Regions from separate parts of the Homo sapiens genome. Here region 2 is linked to region 1. Evidence: promoter capture Hi-C in human tissues and cell types (Jung and others, 2019). All regions are on one chromosome and are shown on one strand. The core of a region is centred on a gene start or on the middle of the fragment in contact, and the rest is flanking DNA. Distances in the headings are between cores, read along the strand shown.

Evidence for each region. Contacts are between HindIII fragments. The study calls those that stand out against the background at their distance.
Region 2: a fragment that was not itself captured here is called in contact with the fragment with the promoter of NLRP8 in region 1 in 2 of the 25 tissues and cell types used here (heart right ventricle and liver).

The regions. Positions count from the first base shown.
Region 1 is chr19:55,945,948-55,949,816 of GRCh38, reverse strand. NLRP8 (NLR family pyrin domain containing 8) reads right to left here and starts at 1,985. Exons shown (of 10, transcript NM_001433706.1): 1 at 1,548-1,985. The coding sequence starts at 1,914. The HindIII fragment of the contact is 14,722 bases long and covers 1-3,869 here.
Region 2 is chr19:54,523,260-54,527,497 of GRCh38, reverse strand. It overlaps LOC105372460 (a long non-coding RNA gene), which reads left to right and starts at 388. Exons shown (of 4, transcript XR_001754038.3): 1 at 388-584; 2 at 734-938. The HindIII fragment of the contact is 4,451 bases long and covers 1-4,238 here.

The DNA of each region.
Region 1 (3,869 bases), core at 736-3,235:
GCTAAGGAGACGTAAGGCACCCACTCTCCTGTGTTTATGTTTAAAACTGTGGAGCTGACGTTTTCTCCATTCTTACCAATGAGACTGACTACTTGTAATATCAGCTATTGGGAGAGGCGGGTTCACAGCTCCTATCATGTTTCTGGATTGGTGTATTTTCCTTTAATACAGTAGTCCCCCCTTCTCTGCAGGGTCTATGTTCCAAGATCCCCGGTGGATATCTGAAACTGTGGATAGTACTGAACAATGTGGATACTGATTTTTTTAAATACATATCTAGGCCGGGTGTGGTGGCTCACACCTGTAATTCCAGCACTTTGGGAGGCCGAGGCAGGCAAATCACCTAAGGTCAGGAGTTTGAAACCAGCCTGGCCAACATGGTGAAACCCCGTTTCTACTAAAAATACAAAAATTAGCTGGGTGTGGTGGTGCGCACCTGTAATCCCAGCTACTGGGGAGGCTGAGGCATGAGAATTGCTTGAACCTGGGAGGTGGAGGTTGCAGTGAGCTGAGATCACACCACTGCACTCCAGCCTGTGTGACAGAATGAAGACTCCATCTCAAAATAGAAAAAAAATACATACCGATCTATGATAAAAGTTTAAATTATAAATTAGGTACAGTAAGAGATTAACAATAATAATGAAATAGAACAATTATAATACTATACTATCATAAACGGTATGTAAATGTGGTCTCTCTCTGTCTCAGAATATCTCAGTGTACTGTACTCATCTATTTTTGGCCATGATCAACCCAAACTTCAGAAAGCAAAACCTTGGATAAGGGGATGACTGTAGTCCAGCTCTGCTTTATTCATATTGAAGATGAGGTTTTGGATTACAATATCCTCCAGTGGGATTCACCCTTTGTTGCTGCGAAATGGCCTTTTAAAGTGTTTAACCTTCTTGCTTTAAATATAGCACTCCTGACATCACCATAGCTATACCAGCTGTCTTCTGCTGTTTCCATAGCATATGCTTTTCCACTATTTTACTTCCTACTTCTCTATGACTTCATTTAACGTTCACCTCATATAAGCAGTATTCAGTTAAGTTTTTAAAAAATAGGCCCATATGGGCTGGGCACAGTGGCTCACACCTGCAATCCCAGCACTTTGGGGGGCCAAGGCAGGCGGATTACCTGAGGTCAGTAGTTCGAGACCAGCCTGGCCAACATGGTGAAACCCCGTCTCTACTAAAAATAAAAAAAAATTACCCAGGCATGGTGGTGGGTGCCTGTAATCCCAGCTACTCAGGAGGCTGAGGCAGGAGAATCACCTGTACCTGGGAGGCGGGGTTTGCAGTGAGCCGAGATTGTGCCATTGCACTTCAGCCTGGGCAAGAAGAGCGAAACCCCATCTCAGAAAAATAAAATTAAAAAAATGCCCGTATGACAGTCTTTGCCTTTGGGTTAGATCCATTATCTTCCTCCACTGTTTGCTTTCTTGCTCAGAAGGCCAATAAGTGATAGGGGTGGTGACTAGAGTAGTTTAGCTGCCCAGCAGCCAAGCCCACCCCCACTTTATCCACCAGATCAACACTCACCATTTATCTCTCTGCGGACTACAACACACATTTTATCACAGTTCATAATGGCAAAGATGTTCGAAGTCACATCCCAAGCGCGTCGTCCAGGGAAACGCTCTATCAAGAGATGAACCACCTCTGCCCAGCTGGCTGTCTCGACCTGGTCCCAGGTGATGGGCATGGTGCCAGTACTGAGCTCAGTCAGTAAGAGCTGCTTGAACCGTTGTAGCTCCTCATGGCTCACGTTTCTCATGTACAGCATGACCCCATTTTCACATGGGGAGCCGGGGTAGCAAGAGAATGTCCAGGGCGGAATATGAGAACTGTGAGTGGAGGAGGATGAAAAGGGAATGGGGGTGTCAGAGGGTGGATTCACGTCACTCATCTTTAGTCAAGGCAGAGAACACCTCAGTGTCCACGATAAAGACAACCGATTGGAAGAGAGAAACACGAGACCTGCAGAGACATAAAACAATAAAACAAGAAGATGAAAACACTACCCAAGAAAACAGATTCGTGTAATGCTTACTTGGCAGGTATTCTGCGTGCCGGGTACTCCCTTTACCTCCTTTCCTCAAAGATTCTCTGCCCTATGGAAAAACTGAAGATGCATGGAATGTTTGGGATTAGTCCATTAGACTAATGGATTGTTTGTAGTTTCTATTCTCCATGACTTCTTTTGGGGAAGAGGCAAGCAAAATATCAAAGCCTTCACAAAAGGTTTAGCGAAAAGAAAAATTAGAAGCAGGTAAAATAATTCAGTGAAGCTAAAATCTAGAAAATATATGGTTGGTTAGAAGGCTCCATTAGATTAAAAGTGATCTCAAATTCAACAAAGTTTTTATTCTTAAAAAAATGGATCATGTATTAGAGAGATGCAAATCAAAACCACAACGAGATGTCATCTCACACCAGTCAGAATGGTGATTATTAAAAAGTCAAGCAATAACAGATGCTGTATTCTTAAAAAATGGATCATGTATTAGAGAGATGCAAATCAAAACCACAACGAGATGTCATCTCACACCAGTCAGAATGGTGATTATTAAAAAGTCAAGCAATAACAGATGCTGGTGAAGTCGCAGAGAAAAAGGAACACTTATACTCTGTGTGTGGGAGTGTAAATTAGTTCAACTACTCTGGATGACAGTGGGGCAACTCCTCAAAGACCTAAAAAGAGAACTACCATTCAACTCAGCAATCCCATTACTGGATATATATCCAAAGGAATATAAATCATTCTATTATAAAGACACATTCCTGTGTATGTTCATTGCAGCACTACTCACAATAGCAAAGTCATGGAATCAACCTAAATGCCCATCAGTGATAGACCGGATAAAAAAATGTGGTACATAAACACCATGGAATACTATGCAGCCATAAAAAAGAATGAGATCATGACCTTTGCAGGAACATAGATGGAGCCAGAGACCATTATTCCTTAGCAAACTAACACAGGAACAGGAAACCAAATACCACATGTGCTCATTTATAAGTGGTAGCTAAACGATGAGAACACATGGACACATAGAGGGAACACCACACACTGGAGTCTGCTAGAGGCTGGAGGGTGGGAGGAGGGAGAAGATCAGGAAAAATAACTAATGGGTACTGGGATTAATACCTGGGTGATGAGATAACCTGTACAACAAACCCACCCCCATAACACGTTTGCCTATATAACAAACCTGCACATGTACCCCTGTATCTAAAAGAAATGTAAAAAAGAAATAAAATAAAAAGGATCATGGGTGTATTTTTGTCCCCCCTGCCCCAACTTCCAATAATAGTTTATTTATTTATTATTTATTTATTTACTTAGAGACAGAGTCTCACTCTGTTTCCCAGGCTGGAGTGCAGTGGTGTGATCTCGGCTCACTGCAACCTCCACTTCCCTGGTTCAAGCAATTCCCTTGCCTCAGCCCCCTGAGTAGCTGGGATTACAGGCACCTGCCACCATGCCTGGCTAATTTTTTTGTATTTTTAGTATAGATGGGGTTTCACTATGTTGGCCAGGCTGGTCTCAAACTCCTGACCTCAAGTGATCCACCCACCTCAGCCTCCCAAAGTGCTGGGATTACAGGTGTGAGCCACTGCACCTGGCCAATAGCTTCTTCTTTAACACTTCTCCCTCTTATAACTTATGTGACACCCAAACATCTGGATAAACTTGTTTAATTGACTCAGTCCTCCCTTGGGTCCAGAGTAGCTGGGCTTGGTCCCAGGACAAAGGTGATATGCTCCTGGGTGGCTGACTCTTGCTAGTGCTCCTTCCGTCCAGTGGGTGGCGCTGCATGGAGGAGCCTAACACAGTCACACATTTTCTACCTCTACTTA
Region 2 (4,238 bases), core at 834-3,333, 1.4 Mb after region 1:
TACTCAGCTCTTCGTTTTGGAAGATAAGCAATTACTGCCGTTCACTTAACAATAATATAAACATGCAGAAATATCATAGTATTTTCTTTGGTATGAAGAATAGAGAAGAAATTTGTTTGTGTTCTCTAGGAACAAATTTCTGGGATGATGGCAGTGGAGTCATCAGACACCTGGCTGAGGAGGAGTTTGGATATGAGCAGAGGCAGGAGCCATCGCATGGAAGATCTCGCGAGAGGACGGGTCTTCCGCGTGCCTTGAAGATCTCGGGAGAGGACGGGTCTCTTGAGTTGGGTGAAGATCTCGCGATAGGAGGGAATCTCATGCTAGGGGTGCAGATTTCGCGAGAGGACGGGTCTCCTGCATGGGGTGATGATCTCGCGAGAGGACCTGTCTCCTACGTGGGGTGAAGATCTCGGGAGAGGCCGGATCTCCCGCGCGGGGCGAAGATCTCGGGAGAGGACGGGTCTCCTGCGCAGGGTGAAGATCTCACGAGAGGATGGGTCTCCTGTGTGGGGGGAAGAGCCACACACAGAGAAGCCCAGGACCCTGTGCATAGAGCAACAGCTTTCAGATGATGAGCTTTGGTTAGAATAGTTTCCTAAAATTTGAGTCTATGGGATATTTTGCAAGTTGTGGTTGACATCGATATCATCAGACAAGTGTCCTTCGCTGACAGTACCAAAAGCCCTCTAAGTAATGTGTGAAAAGCAATTTCCTTACTCTTCACTTGCAGATTAACGGAGGCATTCATCAATGCACAGAGGCAAAACCAGTGTCCTCAGAGTATCCAGACCCTGAAAGCTGAAAGAAGGAATGAAAAACCTGCCTCTGGAAGTGGCATTGGCAAGGTATGACCACAAGGAAAGCAGCATGAGATGCTCCTTCCCTGCTTCGACCATGCTGAGACCTGACTCATTGCTGGACTAGAGAAAATCAAGGTGGGTGTTGGAAGATGGGAACACTCTAGCGATTGCGAGTGAGTAGCTGCTTCCTTGGTCCTAGAAAGCTTAGGACTGTTTTTTTGTTTTTGTTTTTGTTTTTTTTTGAGACGGAGTCTCACTCTGTCCCCCAGGCTGGAGTGCAGTGGCGCGATCTCGGCTCACTGCAAGCTCCGCCTCCCGGGTTCACACCATTCTCCTGCCTCAGCCTTCTGAGTAGCTGGGACTACAGGCGCCCACCACCACGCCCGGCAAATTTGTGTGTGTGAGTGTGTGTGTGTGTATTTTTAGTAGAGACGGGGTTTCACAGTGTAGGACTCTTTGACATTCATGTTTCTCAGTGTTTCACCCAAATAACCCACGCTAAGGAGCAAGATCCAATATTCTCCATAGCAGAATAATTATTTTATCATAGGAATATTTACATTTGTTTTATGCCCTTATTTACATTCTCTGGATGAATACGAGAGATGTTAACAAAGAATCACTCCAGATCAAAACATCCATAATTGTATTGACCAGTATTAAACAGTGAAGAGAGAAAACACAATTCCTTGCCAAGATCAATTGATTGAGAGTCTTGTCTTCAGCTTTGGTTTCTCCAAGAATTTTCAGCACCTACCCTCCCAGAGTATCTTGTTTTCTCAACTGGACTGCTCATTTCTATCATTACTTTTGAAACAAGGTCCAAAAGGTGAACAAGATAAGAGCTACTTTCACGTAGGTCAGAGGGGTGAACGGCATCAGAGGCTTCAGAAAATCTGAGGCCGAGGGATGATAAAAGTCCAACTAAATATTTGCAATGACCTAACTAACTTAGTATCTGCCTCATGCACTTCCGTTTCTCGATTAAACCAATTACTTAAACATGAAAAATTAATGCAAAATAATGTCAAGGTTTTATTTGAAATGATTAATTAAAAACACACATCTTTAATGGGAATCTGAATGTTAGCAAGCACGGGTGAAAAGGCCTTTGTGTTGAAGCCAGCGTGGAATTCCTGAGCTGATCCATAGGAGGGCATATGCTCAGGTTACCCATCTGGGTGAATCAAGCTTCCTGTTGCTTTACGTTATTCTAGACACCCCATTCTCCCAATCCTCCAATACTTGTGAGCTCTCCATGCTGAAAACAGTGTGAAGGTCCTATTAGTTTGGACACAGGCTTCACCCTGTGTGTCTAGAATTCTTGATCCACATCCACCCATAGAATAAAGGGACCGTTTATATCTCTGCCATGAATAGATTTCCCTGCCTGCTTCAAACCTGTCGACACAACCCAAGGGCAAGCTTTTCATTTGCAGTGATTCAATTCTCACCTGAGAAGATCTGTGAAATTGAGGCTTTGCCCAGGAGAGGTGGCTGCTTCCAGCCCTGGCCCATTGAACCCAACGCATTATGTTCATCCTTCATTTTTCCTTCTGACTGCCTGGAATAGGGACAATGACAGTGACCATGACAGGGGATGTGGGTGATGACCTCCAAAGTCTATCTCCTATCATCAAAATTCTGGCCTCACTTCTGGAGCCTCTGGAGAGGTTGACAGGCTGGCACTTCCACATGCAAACCTTTCTGTGTGTCTCCTATCTGAGCTGAAGATTCCTCATCTCTGATTCCACCTTTCCTTCACGGCAGGGCTGGAATATGTGGTATTCTCATCTGTACATAAATAGACACAATGGTTTATAACCCTTACTCGAAGCATACGTTCATTCAGATACTTCACTCCAAGTTTTAGATAAATATTATTACTTTATAAATACCCACGTACACTCAGGACAGTATGTTGTCTTATTTACAGCAAAAGAAATGGATCCTTCACATTTCCCTCACCCCAGGACTTTTGCACGTGCTCTTCTCTCTATCTCAACTTCCATCCCTCTCCCCACACCTCATATCACTGTTGAGTGCAAATATCACCAGCTCCAAGATTTCTTTCCTTACCACCGTAGGCAAGTAGGCTTCTGTATTAGTTTTCATGGTTTAGTTTTAACATTTTCTTTCATAAAATTTATCATTGATGTCATTTATTTCTATTTCTCCACTTTTTCATTGTTTCTCCTCCAGTTCCCACCATGAAGACACTCTTTGTGTCTACAATATACCGTAATTGTACGAAGTGAGGAGCCCCGTACTTGGCACACATTTAGTGATTAGTAACTATACGGGGAATTACCGAATGACTCAATGAAGAATGAATAAATGAATGAATGAATGATTTGGGGCCAGGAAGTGTCTCACACCTGTAATGCCAGCACTTTGGGAGGCCAAGGTGGGCAGATCACTTGACATCACGTGTTTGAAACCAGCCTGGCCAAAACCAGCTGGTGAAACCCCATCTCTACTAAAAATACAAAAATTAGCTGGGCATGATGGCGCATGCCTGTAGTCCCAGCTGCTTGGGAGGCTGAGGCAGGAGAATCACTTGAACCCAGGAGGCAGAGGTTGCAGTGAGCCAAGATCTCACCATTGCATTCCAGCCTGGATGCCAAGAGTGAAACTCTCTCTCAAAAAAAAATTAAATTAAAAAAATACAAAAATTAGCCAGGTGTGGTGGTGCACACCTGTAGTCCCAGCTACTCGGGAGGCTGAGGCATGAGAATCACTTGAACCCAGGATGTGCAGGTTGCAGTGAGAGAAGATCGCTCCACAGATCTGGGTGACAGAGCAAGACTCTGTCTCAAAAAAAAAAAAAAGGTGGGGGGGATGTGGAAGGATTCTTTCCTAGAACCTACAGAGTGGGCATGGCCTCCTTGACACCTTACTTGCAAACTTCTACTTCCCAGGATTATAAGTGAATTGATTTTGTGGTGTTAAGCCACGCAGATTGCAGGACTTTGTTAGGACAGCCCCAGGAAGCTAACACAGGTGGCAAAGCATTGTGGTCACAAGACTGGGTTCTGACCTCTGCCAGCCTGGGCTCATTCCAGGATCTGCGGCCTGTTTGCTCCGTGACTCTCAGCCTGCTGCACAAGCTGTGAAGCTCAACCTCCTCATCCTGTAAGCGTGGGTGATATTAGTCACTTCCTAAGGAGGCTTATGTGAAGACGTCACTATTTATTCCATTTAAAACTTCATAAAACTGCATGCCACTTTGTTAAGTAAAGATAATCCAACACAATCAACATGCTATTTTCATTCATACACATTCATACACTCAGTTACCAAGTCTGAGTCCCTGCAGTGCAGTGAACGGACTAGGTATACACAGGGTCTGTGCAGGGACACAGTCCATGTCCAGTATGACGACTGAAGCAGAGAGTGGCGAAGTGGGCTTTGGAGGCCCCCAGATCTGCAACC